3 separate regions of the Homo sapiens genome follow, and regions 1 and 3 are each linked to region 2. The links are contacts of gene promoters, found by promoter capture Hi-C in blood cells and fetal thymus (Javierre and others, 2016). All regions are on one chromosome and are shown on one strand. Each heading gives the region's core, a stretch centred on a gene start or on the middle of the fragment in contact. The rest is flanking DNA. Distances are from core to core; before and after follow the strand shown.

Region 1 (4,491 bases), core at 1,373-3,872, 220 kb after region 2:
GAGGGGATGGGGACAGGGACTCACTATTGGATTTAACCATGAACAGAAAAATGCCCAAATATTGTTTGTTTTCCCGTTTTAGCTGTAAAGCAAAGAGCAACCCTTACATTTTATACAGGCTCCCAAGTACCAAGTAAAATCTTTCCTGTATTTCCAAATATGGATTTAAACCTTTCAGAGGGTAAAAGAACTTTAAAGAAGGAAAATGTGGAAATACAGATGAAGCATTCAAGATGAAAAATTGGTTTCTGATGTCTTGGACCACAACCGACTAGTGTTCTTCATGCATTTAAAAAAGTATCAGATTGTGCAGGGACTCCCACATGCGGAGTACTTGTAATTCCAGTCCAGAGTTCAGGCTTTGCACAATGTCAGGACCCTCTAAAGTTATCTGGCTAAGACAAGAATGTGTTCAGTTGCAAAGGATTCAACTTCCAAGGCTTCTGGATGTTGGAATCTTTGCCTCACGGTGATTTCTGATGGTAGGGCTAGACTGATTATATAAGGTGTGCCACATTTATTTCTAGGATTCCTAAATTGGCCACTATTTATCAATTAGGAAACTCACTTTCTATGACAGAAGAAAACATTTCTGCCTATATTCATTCTACCCGTGCCCTTTTCCTGCTGACATTTTTACACGATAAAATGCTATCTTTTTAAATAATAAAATCTGAACCAGATGGAAAAAGTGAATTGTCTCTAGGGCAGATTTATTATAGTCATTGAATTCAGAAATGAAGAGAATGTAAAGAAGGGATATTAACCATATAGAGCTTTTACAACACGAATCTTCATTCTCTGAATTTTATATGAGATGGCCATATCTCCCTCTCTCTATATATAACTTTATTTAAAGAGATTTAAAACTCCTCAAGAAATGATGCTTTATTTCTTTCCTTTAATGACTATTATAAGGTTGAAATTGTTTCTGTTTTCTTTTCTTTAATTGAATCTCATCAGTTTCCTTCTGGAGTGCCAAGTTTTGTTTTCTCAAACTCTCTACCATAGTACTACTTCAAATTGTTGAAATCGTTCTGCTTTCATTTCCACATATTCAGAAGATACGTATATTGTTCTTGTAATCTTTTCCCAGAAGTTGTAAACAGTGACACCAGATTTCAGTCACTGGTAAAGGATCATGTAAATAGTAGTAATCCAAGACATCGGATACACTTTAAAGAGAAAGGAAAGGAGTTAAAGGAAGTTGGCTGTGTTACATTACTGCCTCAGAAACTTCACAGTGGAAAGTTAAAAAATCTTCCCAGAGAGTTTGCAATCAATATTCATTCCTGCAAATTCAGATGCCCTAAGAAGGCAATTGAAATTAATTGGAGTGATTATAACAAAAATGGGGAAAAGGAGGAGGGGTGAAGAACAGCAAAAACAAGATTTAAAACTCCAATTTAGAAGAATTAAAAGTTATAATGTGAAAGGAATTTTTTTTAAAGTGAAACAAAAGAAATGAAGAAGTGATATGCCATATCGAAGAGTCTGGTATTGTCTTTAAAATATCCCTACAGGACAAAGAAGAATAAAAACCATAGTTTTACAAGTCATTAGCATTCTAAGTCAAGTCTGCATTTTAGGGACATGGGTAGAAAGCCCTGAGCAGAAACTGATGTTCTAATAGTTGAGGAAGAATAAAACAACATTGATAATCAATGGCTCAAAAAGAAGACAGATCAATCATACGAGTATCTCCTAGGGTTTTCTACATTAAAGAATGTCTCTTTTAGAAAGGAAAACAGACATCACAATTAGACTGTATTGTTTGATTCCCTGCACAGCATTGTAAACAAAGAAAATGATGACACTGCCCTTGCCACCACCATTGGCTACAATTTGTGGTATGCTTACAAGGCATTCTGCTAAGTACTTTATATTTGTGTCTTCTTCAACCATCACAAATATGCTGAGATATTGTCCTCACTTTATAGGATATAAAGTGAAGCTTCAGAGAAGTTATGTGTTTTGACTAAGATCAGGCAGGTGGTTAAGTGACAGGTCTGATATTTGAACTCCCGTCCAACTGACTCCAAGACCTGGGTGGGAAGCCCAGGCATGCCATTTATAGAAGAGCATTGGGATCTCGGATACTCAAGATTTTTCTCCGCATTTGCCTATATCACCATAATAAGACTGCGGAAGTACATGAAGAACTAGATTACAATATCATTGTTGTGACTAATGTTTTAGATTGTTATTATTCTGAGATCTTTTGTCATTATTTCCATTGCTCTATGCTGTTTTGCCTGGCTGTTGCTTTATTATTGAATGAACACCCTGAGCAAGGTTCGCACACAGCTGTTAGAAATGTGGAAGCTAGACCTTTTTCCTGGGGAAGGAGATGGGTTGAAGAATGTGAGGAAACAAGACCAAATTAGGCCCATCAAAGGAGAACCTGCTTCCTGTTCCTTGTGCCTCGTAGCATCTGTCACTACCAACGGAAACTCAGTTCTAGTGGTGAAAACTATAGAAGGCCTTAGCCATTTTTTTCAATAGAGTTCTATTTATAACATGAAAACTCCCTTCTTGGACTGTGGGGAATGAGTTATTGAGGTCCTTGAAAGATAATTTTGGTGACTGGCGATGTCCTTTTCTAATAATAGCTAGAATTTATTGACTACTTAGTAGGAATGGTCCCTGTGTTAAGTACTGTACATACTTGTTAAATCCTCATAATGATTATGTTTTATTATTCTTATTTTACAGAGGAGGAACCTGGGGCGTAGGTTAAGGAACATGTCCAAGGCTACACAGTGAATAAATGAAAGAGCTGGGATTTAACCGAGGCCTTAACCTCTGTGCTGCATGACCTTTACTATTTTTCCTCTGATAAAAATGAAAATATTTCTCTTAAGTACTTAGCTTGGGAATGAAAGACAGGTGTGTAAATAACCTTGACTTTGGGTAATTGGCTTCAGGCTTATCCATCCTACTCCGGGCCCTCTCCCACTCACATTTACTGTCTTTCTGTATGTCTTCCTTTCATAATCTTTTTCTTCCTCCTTCTTGCCGTGGAGGTTTTTTTTTTTCTCTTCTCTCCCTTCCCCATAGTCCCTGCGTTGCCCTTGCCTTCTTAGTGCTTAAATCTGACTCTGGCTTTGTTGGCATTATTTCCCTGGTCTTTTCTCAATCTCTCTTTCACGTCTCCTCCTAGTATTTGAATCCCTGTTTACCAACAGCACTGAAATGTGACAATGTAAAGTGTAAAAAAGCAACGCAGGACAACCTTGACAAGTCCAGATAATAATATTTTCATCCTTTCCAGGAAAAAAACAAAGAGGAAAGCTTTGTATCTTTCTTTGTTCCTTCTCATCAGGAAAATCATCTAGCTGGAGGTCTCAGAGGCAGCTTCTATCTGGCAACCTTCCCTGAAACAGAGCAAAACTGTTCTATGATTAGGAGAACAAGGTGGAGGGTCCGGCCCAGAGTCAGGGTCAAGGTTGACTTAGGCTTCAGTTCTTGAAGGACAAAGTGTATTAGATCCTGCCCTCAGAGCTTGGCAGAAGTTACTTCATTGCTTGAAAGGCCCACCGTCTGCGTAAATCTTCTTACCTTTTCATTATCTGCAGCGAAGACAAGATCCAGTTCTCAGAGAATGTATTAAAATAGAAAAACATTTTGCTGCTTTTGAAAAATGGTTCCATGTCTTATTTTCTGCTGATGATTAAGTACAAAAAATTATTATTTCAAATAGATTGCTGGGGAGAGAAAAGAACTCTAGATGGATAGTGTTATTCTTTTTGTCACGGTAATCCTATTTCTTGGCTCAGAAGTTACACATCATGGGAGAGGTGACTTCATACCTGAAAAAATTTGTATTAAACATTTGACCAATTATAGAGTATTTTACTGCCTATGGAATGTTAATATGATTTAATACGTTTACCTAAAATCTGCATTCATTAAAAAGTCTGTGATTTGCGCATAATCGCTGCCTAAATGCTTGCCTCAGCCCTCTCTGCATTGCGTGCCTGAAGATCGTGGGGTGGCTAGAAGTTCTGAACCATTTTCTTTTATCTCTCAGCCAAGGTGCATCTGTCTAATGTCTTCTAAGCAGGTGTTATTAGGTGTGATTTCTGGTTGGCTGAGAAATCAATGAGTGGCCAGCTGCGGTGGCTCATGCCTGTAATCCTAGCACTTTGGGAGGCCAAGGCAGGTGGATCACCTGAGGTCAGGAGTTTGAAACCAGCCTGGCCAACATGGTGAAACCTGGTCTCTACTAAAAAGAAAAAAAAAATTAGCCAGGCATGGTGGCACGTGCCTGTAATCCCAGCTACTCGGGAGGCTGAGGCAGGAGAATCGCTTGAACCTGGGAGGCGAAGATTGCAGTGAGCCGAGATTGCGCCACTGCACTCCAGCCTGGGCGACAGCTCTGTCTCAAAAAAAAAAAAAAAAAAAAATCAATGAGTATAGCAGATTTCATCATGCTCCTTTCCCCCAACTCTTTATATTTTTTAGTTTAACAGATCTTTAAGTCCTCTA
Region 2 (4,424 bases), core at 339-2,838:
GTAACTGAATTCCTGCCTTGAGGCTTCCTAGACCTTGTCATAGCTTTCCTTCTAGAGAGCTGGATTTAACCCTTGGCAGTGGACGATCTCTTGGAACCTGACGCCATTTCCTGCTTACTCCCGAGCATTGTTTCCTCTCTGGACCTCCTCCTTGCTTAGCCTTCATCAGGCTGGATGGATCTCTCCATCAGAACTTGCCAAAACCAAGCCCAAACTTTCATGCTTTTTAATATTGTGCCCTTGATGTGGTCGACTTATGGGTGGTACACCGGACATCCAGGTTACTGCTCAGATTACAATTTCAACTCACCCATAGACAATTTACAGATTGATTTGGCTAAATGTTATGGAAACAGAACCAAAAGGCACTTTTCTGTCTTTATTACTATTTCTTAAGGTGATGTGTATGTGGAGTTAACTATATATAATGGTCCCATAATTACCCTTTTGGGAAACAAAAGTCTTTGTGTGTTTTTAGATAAAGGTAGCAAAATGGAAACTCCCTATTGCTTTTCTAAGCACGCCTTCCTTTGCACCCCCATCTTCTGTGGCTGTTTTAGCCAGAAATGATACATCATTACTGTCTTTAAGGAGATGGAGAGGACTGTGGCTTTAACACATAGTGGAGGGAGCTCTGTAGTCTCATTCTTGCTGACAACTTTTCAGTGTCAACCAACTATAGTTTCCTATTGGTGAAGTTTTCACTTTTTCAGAGTCTTTCTGGGCTTGTTCTTTGATCACCCTCATCTGAAGAGGAAGCAGGAAAGAACTGTTGCCCTCTTTGAACTCTTAGAGAATTCATGGTTTATTGTATCAATTTGTTATCGACCACAGATTATCTTGTTAACTTTTGGTATCTGTCATTTTATTCTCCCCAACCAGGTGGAAATGTACCCTGTTTAGGCCCAGGACCTACCTTAGCAACCTTGATTGGCTCACAAGCCAGGTTGCTTAAGACTTGTTTCCCCAGCAGCTGGTGTCCCTACTTCCTGCCTAGCCCTTTTCCTTTTGCTTTGTCTGTGCTTGGGAAATACATGTTATACTCTGTAGAGCAGATTTGCTGGCAGTAAGAACAGAGATGTGTAGAGCCCAGCGTGCTGGAGGGCTCTCTGCATCTGGCTGTGAGTGGCCCCTGGACTGGGACCGTGGGAGGACAGCTTTCCATAGTTTAACATAAATGAACCACACCATAAGGACAATCTGCTCTCATTTCACTCAACTAGGATTTAGTGAGTACTGTTAAAGCACAGTTTGCACTGGAGTAATTGGAGAATGGAGTTTGCCCTTCACAATCTGTGCACAATCTGTTAGCAGCTAAAAACAAATGTTAGCAGTTATAATTACCATCAATTTGTCTCCAGGCTTGGATCACATTCCAGGTGTTAGAAGAGATGGTCCATTTCCTTTTTTTTCTCCTTTAAGTCCCATGCCCTGTTTCAAGTAGCTTCAGAAGGCAATTGTGCTGTAAAGATTCACCTTGTAATGGGTTCAGGACTCTTTCACAGTTTGTGTCTATTCGTTCATTTGAACTTTGCTGTTCCAAGTTAGAAAGCCCTTGCTGAGGTGTGGCTACCTCTAAGAACACTGTTGATTGGGTGCCATGGTAACGTTTGCAAAGTAGCTACTGCTAGGATACAGCTCTGACACTTATTACTTTATTTGCATATCAAGCCACCTGTTCCAAAGATGAAAATATACAGGACTGCATATCCCAGTCTGGGTAAAAGGATAATAGCTGACTGTTGAAGAGAACATGTTGCAGTTTTTCTCCTGCTAGCTGAAGAATCAAGTTCTGAGGGCCTGCTCCTCAGCACCTTTCTCCTGGTCTAGAGTAGGTGCCAGGCCTGGCGGTTCTGTTGCCTGCGTGGGTGCCAGGGCTTCTCCTTGGGAGGCTTGCCCTCTGTGAGAGGGAGCAGAGAGTTGACTTCCTCCAAGAGGCCCATAGTCCCTGAAGGGGGTGTTTTTGATTCTGTCTAAACCTAGGCTATGTGTTAGCGGTTTCCCTCCTCTTAGAAATTGCCTGGAAGACTCTTGCTATTGGTATGTATGTGGTTCCCTCCAGTTTAAGACAAGATTTGTTCCAGGATCGGTTGTAGCCCCTTCTCTGTGGCTAACGGAAGAGCCACTTGTCCTTCTCCATTCTTTTCCTTAGTCTCCCTTGACCCCCACATCATCTCCTAGACACAAGGCACATTGATAGTCACAATTCACTGTCAATCACTCTGGATTATTCCCTCATTCCCCTTTCCCAGGCCACCTGAAGGAGTGAGTGGGGATTGCTATTGTGTACATTCCAGTAATAACTATTGGCTGTAAGCAGACATACTCTAAAAATAACTCAGGGATACTGAGCACCCAGAGGGCACCTTCTGTCTTCTCGAAGCTTCGCCACGCCTGTTTCCACTGTCAGACTTCCAGTCTGCACCACAGCACACATCCTTTCTCATCCAGAGTGCTCCTACTAGACGAGATGTTTTTGTCTCCTAAGGGCCTCAGGTGTATTCATGAACTCCTCAGCTGGTTATTTTCAGTTTCATCTTCCTTGGTGCTTGCTCTGGCACATGGTCACTGCTGCATCCTGTCCCTTCCCCACAGTTTGCCATGGGTCATCCCTTTTTTCTCATTGCTTGCATCTTCTAACTGAATGAACTTGTAAATATGGAACTGAAAGTCAATCCTCATAGCTCATCTTTTATTTAATCCTAATAAATGACAATCTATTGCAAACATTACTTTAAAAATATTACTTATCAAAAGCTGGGTGAAAGGATAATAGCTGACTGTTGAAGAGAACATGTTGGGGTTTTTCTCCCGCTAGCTGAAGAATCAAGTTCTGAGGGCCTGCTCAGTTCTGTAAGAAAGTATTAGCTGTCTGACAGGTTCCAGTGAGGGGAGGAAAAGACAAAAAATATAGTCCCCAAATCTGCACCAGCATCCCATGTGCACTGTGCACCTTCCATGGTGGATTAGATGCTCAGCAAATGATATACCTATGGAAGGTTAAGCCTAAAGAAACAGGAAAAATGAGCCTTTGTCCACTAGCACATTTATCAATTGCATTTTAGGGTGATTTTAGGGATAGGCAACCCCAATTAGTCATTATTCTTTAAAGGTAGTTGTCTGTTAGATGTAGGAAGACTCCAAGGAATGTTAAGTTGGCAACATTCCATTTAGGTTGCACAGAATGACTTTTAAGACTAAACTTCATCAGGAGGAAATGAAAGGCCTTTACCATGGTTCCTGTTCACAGTGAAATTGACATGTATTGGAAAGGAGATGCTTGGAAGAAATGTCTAGCTTCCCCAACAGACTCCTTTCTTCTCTTTTCTGTCTTCCTTTGTTAATCTGCCATGTTTCATCTTCATTCAGATGAGTTATGATGTATATTATTTATGTAGAGATATTATGAGATTATAATGAAGAAGATTTACAAAGACTAAACTATCCTGCAATGATCTAAATTTTTAAGAGACATTTACTCAGTTTGGCACTCCAAAAATTATTAATCTATGTTCTGACAACCCAGTTTGGGGTATATCCAAGATGGCTTGTGTGTTGCTAGTTACTGCTTATAAGGCAACTTTCTCTTTGGGTGGCAGGAAGTAAAATATTTATAAGTTATTGCTAAAATGTTAAAGTTTTATTTGAACCTACTGTACCCAAGTAATTATATAATTCATCACTTTAGTAGCAGTTTGGTTGACACTGAACAACAATGCTCAAATTCATGTAGCAGTAACAAACTACGTGATAAAAGGAACTGAATTTAGAAAGCAAGCTTCAAGTAAAGATCAGAAGATTAAGTAGATTTCATGGAGCTCACTAAGGAGTTAGATGGGAAAGATGAGATAAGAAAAGCACTGGAGTTGAGACCAAAAGGAGACGAAAAAGCAGAGGGTGGATCTTCGAGCTCGGGGGGTTATAAACAAGATGGCCACAAGGTGGCAGCACAGTCTTAACAGCAGAGAGCTTTCTGTAGGGCCACCCTTAATTTGCTAACACCACAGACTTTCTCTTAGAATTCCTCCATGTTGATTTTCCTCATTATCCTAGGGGAAACAGCAGCAAATGTTTAGAATTAAAAATGACTCCTAAAACTTAAGCTGAGGAAAAGTATAGGGTAAAGGCAGCATCTTTACTTCCAGAGACTGTTTAGATGCTCTAAAGAAGGCTTCCAACTCTCTGTGGGAAAGGACCAATTGACATTTCCAAACCATATGTTAAACAGTGATGGGAGGCCATTGTTTTGGGCTAAGCTTGTACACTAGGCCCCAGCCGACCAGACCAAACCAAAATGGAGTCACTCATGCTAAATGTGACATAAACTAAAATTTTAAGGAAACAGATAGATCCCAAAGCAGACCAAGTTTTTTTTCTTTTCTTTTCTTTTTTTTTTCTCATGAAAACAGGAGATTCCGGCACAA
Region 3 (4,381 bases), core at 531-3,030, 240 kb after region 2:
AGGAGATTTGGGGCTGAGGAAGGAAAAACTGAAACTGCTGGATGTGGCAGGTAAGTGGATTTTCAGTTGACACCTCATTTGGAATAATAGGGACTCGTCGGTCTTTTTAGATCTCTAGCAGGGATGGAATCTCATTCTCATGAAATCATAAAGTCATGGAATCAACAAGTCTTGTAGCTCCCCATCTCAGGCGTTTCTCTCTCCTATCTAATGAGGAGGTTGTCTTAAGTGCTCTTTTGAGATCCCTTTCACCTCTGTTATTCTGTGATTCTTAGGAGCCTTTGAACTTTTCAGAAATTCTCTTTAGGAATTTTAGCCATGTCTACAATAACTTATGATACATTATTCCTCTGCCCATAACTGACATACTGGAGGGAGACCAGAAGGACCTACACACCGGAAAGAGGTGGGCACTCTTATTCAAGTCAGACATAATTGATTTCTCACTCTAAGCAAATTCTCAAGAATTTCGGAGGACTCACAACTATCTAGCACAGGAAAGGCGCATATTAGGCTGCTTTCTTTTTTTTAGAGGTGGGGTCTCACTATGTTGCTCAAGTTGGACTTGAACTCCTGGGCTCAAGCGACCCTCCTGCCTCAGCCTTCTGAGTAGCTAGGATTACAGGCGCATGCCGCCATGTCCAGTATAGGCTATTTTCATTCATCCCTGTGAAAAACTATGAATGGGAGATCATTAAATAGTGGCTCTCTTTATTATCATTTGTGATGGGAAGAACTTAAATAGGTAATGAGTCACTGTGGGTTCTGTCCCAGTAGTGTACCTGGGACCTGAGTTAAGGCTGAGAGATGGAACATGTTGATGCTCTATCACTATCAGCAAGGCCAAGCCACTGAAAAAAACCCTTTTGTGGTTGTACAGTAGTGGAAGGTCACGTGCTATGGTAATACATAAATCTCAGGAAAAGTGACTAAGGAAAAACTAGTGTAGAAGTTATATACTACTGAATTGTGCAATTTACCCCCCCATTCATGCAGTTCCTGGAAAATGAGAACTTAACAAGACCCCAAAACCGCAAAAGCACTTAATGTTCAGTCAGCAAACTCATGATTACTCATTATATAGAAGAGTTTGTTGTTACAATAGACAGGAGGAGAGAAAGGGTAGCCATGTGTCCTCAGGCACCAGGAGGAAGGATTGATTTGTAAGAGTTCCAAACCTGAGAGGCAATTTAGAAGAACTGACTGGGGGCTGGGGATGTGTGAAAGTTCGACTTTTATGGATTGGTCATGTAGTACAATATTGGACTTCCTCAGAAAACTTCCGGTGCAAAAGTTTCATTTAGCTAAGAAATGCTACAGAAGTAGTCCCTTTCTTTCACAGAATGCTGGCACATCCATTTCAGGCCAAGATCGAGAAATCACAAAATGTACTGAGGAAGTCGATCTTTGTTTTCAGGATATCTGATTACTTTGAGTTTAATTTGGGATCTGTAAAAATGTCTTCATTTATGAGAATTGCCTGGCTTGTATTGATGATTGCTTTCATAACCAAATCAGGTGATCTTCTTACAAAGTAAGGGGAAGGCCAGGTGTGGTGGCTGGCTCATGCCTGTAATCCCAGCACTTGGGGAAGCTGAGGCAGGTGGATGATCTGAGATCAGGAGTTCAAGACCAGCCTGGCCAACATGGCGAAACCCCATCTCTACTAAAAACAAAAAATAAAATAAAATATAAAAATTAGCCAGGTGGTGGCGCATTCCTCTAATCCCAGCTACTCGGGAGGCTGAGGCAGGAGAATCACTTGAACCTGGGAGGCAGAGGTTGCAGTGAGCTGAGATTGCGCCACTGCACTCCAGCCTTCCCAGCAGAGTGAGACTTCGTCTCAAAAAAAAAAAAAACAAAGTTGGGGGAAGAACAAGAAAATCCAAGTCCACCAGCCTCGTTATAAATAGGCAACTTGCAACAAGCCAGCCAAGTATTTGCATAATATACATCGTGAGAGCCTGCTGGAGGCCTCTTCATTTTGCATGGTGTTCCGAGCGAGAGTTATGCAGGGTTGTGTGCGAGAAACTAGATGCCTCTTTACTTCTTACCATTGTGGCATCCTGTATCAATTCCCTCTGTGTGCATTTCTGTTTCTCAGGAAGGAACCTCAAAATTTGCAAACCTGGACAGCAGTGTGAAAGAAAACCAGAAGCGTACCCAGAGGCGGCTGCAGCTCCAGAAGGACATGGTATGTCTGGCCCTCGTCTTCCCTGACAGCTCACAGAGGAGAAGGGCCGTGTGCGTCTGGGCTCCCACATGGCACTGGCACCTTCAGTCAACAGGGCACCCAGGCTTTCAGAAAGGGTCTCCCATTCTCTACCCCATTTGTTCTCAGCAGCCCTGGGAGGTCTATAGGAGAGAGATGATTACCCTCATTCAACTAGTAGGAAGTAAGCACTGGGTGGCAAATCCTGTTTTCTGGCAAAGTTGTTTTCTGAAGGTGAGGGGGAGTCTACAGCAGGTCGACTTCCTCCCTCTTGCAGTCTCTTCCGCCCCCTCCTGCACTTAGAAGCTGCTCCACCTTGGCCTGAGGGCCTCCTGAGCTTCCTACTGTAGTCAGCTTCTGATACATGGTGACCAAGGAGAAAGAGTGTCTTCTCCACAGGGCCCTGGTCCTTGTACTCAGAGATCTTTTCATTTGTTCTAATCTAGCCATTGCCCAGCTCTCCTTACTAATCCCAAGGCTAACCAAATCTTTATAGTTTTTCAATATTTAAAGGAGCATCATGCCTCCCTCCTGAAGACTGAAAGATAGGTATTATCAACTTTAGCTTCATTTTAAACTTCTGACTGTTAGCATAAAGTGTGGAAGACCAGAGGGAGGAGATTAGAGACTGACAAACTCTAAATATTCTGCTTTAAGAGGGTTTTCTCTTTCTTTGGAAAGCTCAACGTAAGTAAGAAATGTTTTTGAATGATAGGACTCTTCCGCAACATGAAGCCTATAAAACATTCACAGTGTTACAAACTTTTTTGGTTGTTCAAAGACAAGCTAAAAATAGCTGTTACCAAAAAAATAGATTATTTTAGTACAGGATGAGACCTTGTACACAGAATGGGAAGGACACACTGCAGCTGACAGTGAGTTCCTGAAGGACAAAACCCTCCTTGGTATGAACCTCACAAAGCAGTTCTGGCTGAGGAAGCAGCCAGCCTCATGTCAAGCAGCCTGGCTTTACCCTGTTTGAGGCTTTGTGTTCTGCCAAAATTTCCAGAATTGGCTTGATGAGATTTAGGATAAGGGATCCATGGGGACCGCTTTTTACTTTTCCTTTAGGATGTTTAGTGCCTTGGTGGCTTACTGAAGAAGAGAGATGATTTTAAAGGAGATTTAGTGAAATGAATATAGTGTATCCCTGCAGTTGTAGGTAGAAGTGCCTCCACCTTCATTTCCAACTTTTTATTCTGGAATAAGTTTAGATTTACAGAAAAGCTGCAAAGCTAGAAGTGCAGTTTCCCTCATTGTTAACATCTTCTAAAACCATAGCACATTTGTCAATACTAAGAAACTGACACTGGCATAATACTATTAACTAAAATCTAGACTTTGTTTGGATTTCACCAGTTTTCCACTAGTATCTTCTTATCTGTTCCAGGACCCAATCCGGCATACCAACTGCATTTTGTTGTCTGTCACCCCTGTCTCTTCAGGTCTACGACAGTGTTTTCTTGACTGTTTTTTATGACCTTGGTTGTCTTAAGGGGTCTATCCAGGTATTCTGTAGAATGTTCCACAGTTTGAGGTTGTCTGCTGTTTTCTAGTGATTAGACTGAGCTTCTGGATTTTTAGAAAGAATATCACAGAGTAAAGTGCCCTTCTCATCACATCACATCAAGGAGTGAATGAATGGTTTCAGCGTGACATCTGGTGTCATGTTGATGGTGACACGAATGATGTTGATCTTTATTACTTGGTTAAGGAAGAGTTTGCCAGGTTCTTCCTCAGAAGTTACTGTTTTTCTCTTTCCCTCCTCTATTATTTGAGAGTTAGTCACCAAGTCTAGCCCAAGGGGTTATATTAATAGTGATGCCCCATGCTTTTGTGGTACATACTTCTCTGTGTACAACAGCCAATGGTGAGGCAATGACTATCCAGTGCCATCCCCAACTACCAGGAATGTCCCCATGCTCTGAAAGAGAACAGACATCCTTCTCACTTGAGCCAAAGCAAAACATAAACCCCACAGTCAACACTTTTGAACAGATGTGTATGATCTCCTGGCTTTGAGGCTTGGTTTTCATGATTTCACAAGTTAGATATTAGATCATGGAGTTTCTATCCTATTTGTGTAGAAATTTAAAAAATGTTATTCATGGAGGTTAGCACCACTGGCCCGCAGTTAGGCCTTGAATACATCCATTTGCTCCAGCTTGA

What was found. The method cuts DNA at HindIII sites, captures the fragments that hold promoters and counts their contacts. A CHiCAGO score of 5 or more calls a contact.
Region 1: a contact is called between a fragment that was not itself captured here and the fragment with the promoter of APOBEC4 in region 2, in 2 of 17 cell types (naive CD4 T cells and non-activated CD4 T cells). The highest score is 6.6, in naive CD4 T cells.
Region 3: a contact is called between a fragment that was not itself captured here and the fragment with the promoter of APOBEC4 in region 2, in 13 of 17 cell types (naive CD4 T cells, naive B cells, total CD4 T cells and 10 more). The highest score is 10.9, in naive CD4 T cells.

What each region holds. Positions count from the first base shown.
Region 1 is chr1:183,871,484-183,875,974 of GRCh38, forward strand. The region is part of intron 4 of RGL1 (ral guanine nucleotide dissociation stimulator like 1); the gene reads left to right. Among named protein-coding and RNA genes, the nearest start is that of RGL1, 69 kb to the left of the region's middle. The HindIII fragment of the contact is 1,340 bases long and covers 1,953-3,292 here.
Region 2 is chr1:183,651,728-183,656,151 of GRCh38, forward strand. It overlaps APOBEC4 (apolipoprotein B mRNA editing enzyme catalytic polypeptide like 4), which reads right to left and starts at 1,589. Exons shown (of 2, transcript NM_203454.3): 1 at 1,345-1,589. It also overlaps a transcript of RGL1 not described here. The HindIII fragment of the contact is 5,397 bases long and covers 1-2,381 here.
Region 3 is chr1:183,895,704-183,900,084 of GRCh38, forward strand. It overlaps RGL1 (ral guanine nucleotide dissociation stimulator like 1), which reads left to right. Exons shown (of 18, transcript NM_001297671.3): 10 at 2,105-2,194. Among named protein-coding and RNA genes, the nearest start is that of RGL1, 93 kb to the left of the region's middle. RefSeq lists an enhancer at 2,419-2,578. The HindIII fragment of the contact is 9,566 bases long and covers 1-4,381 here.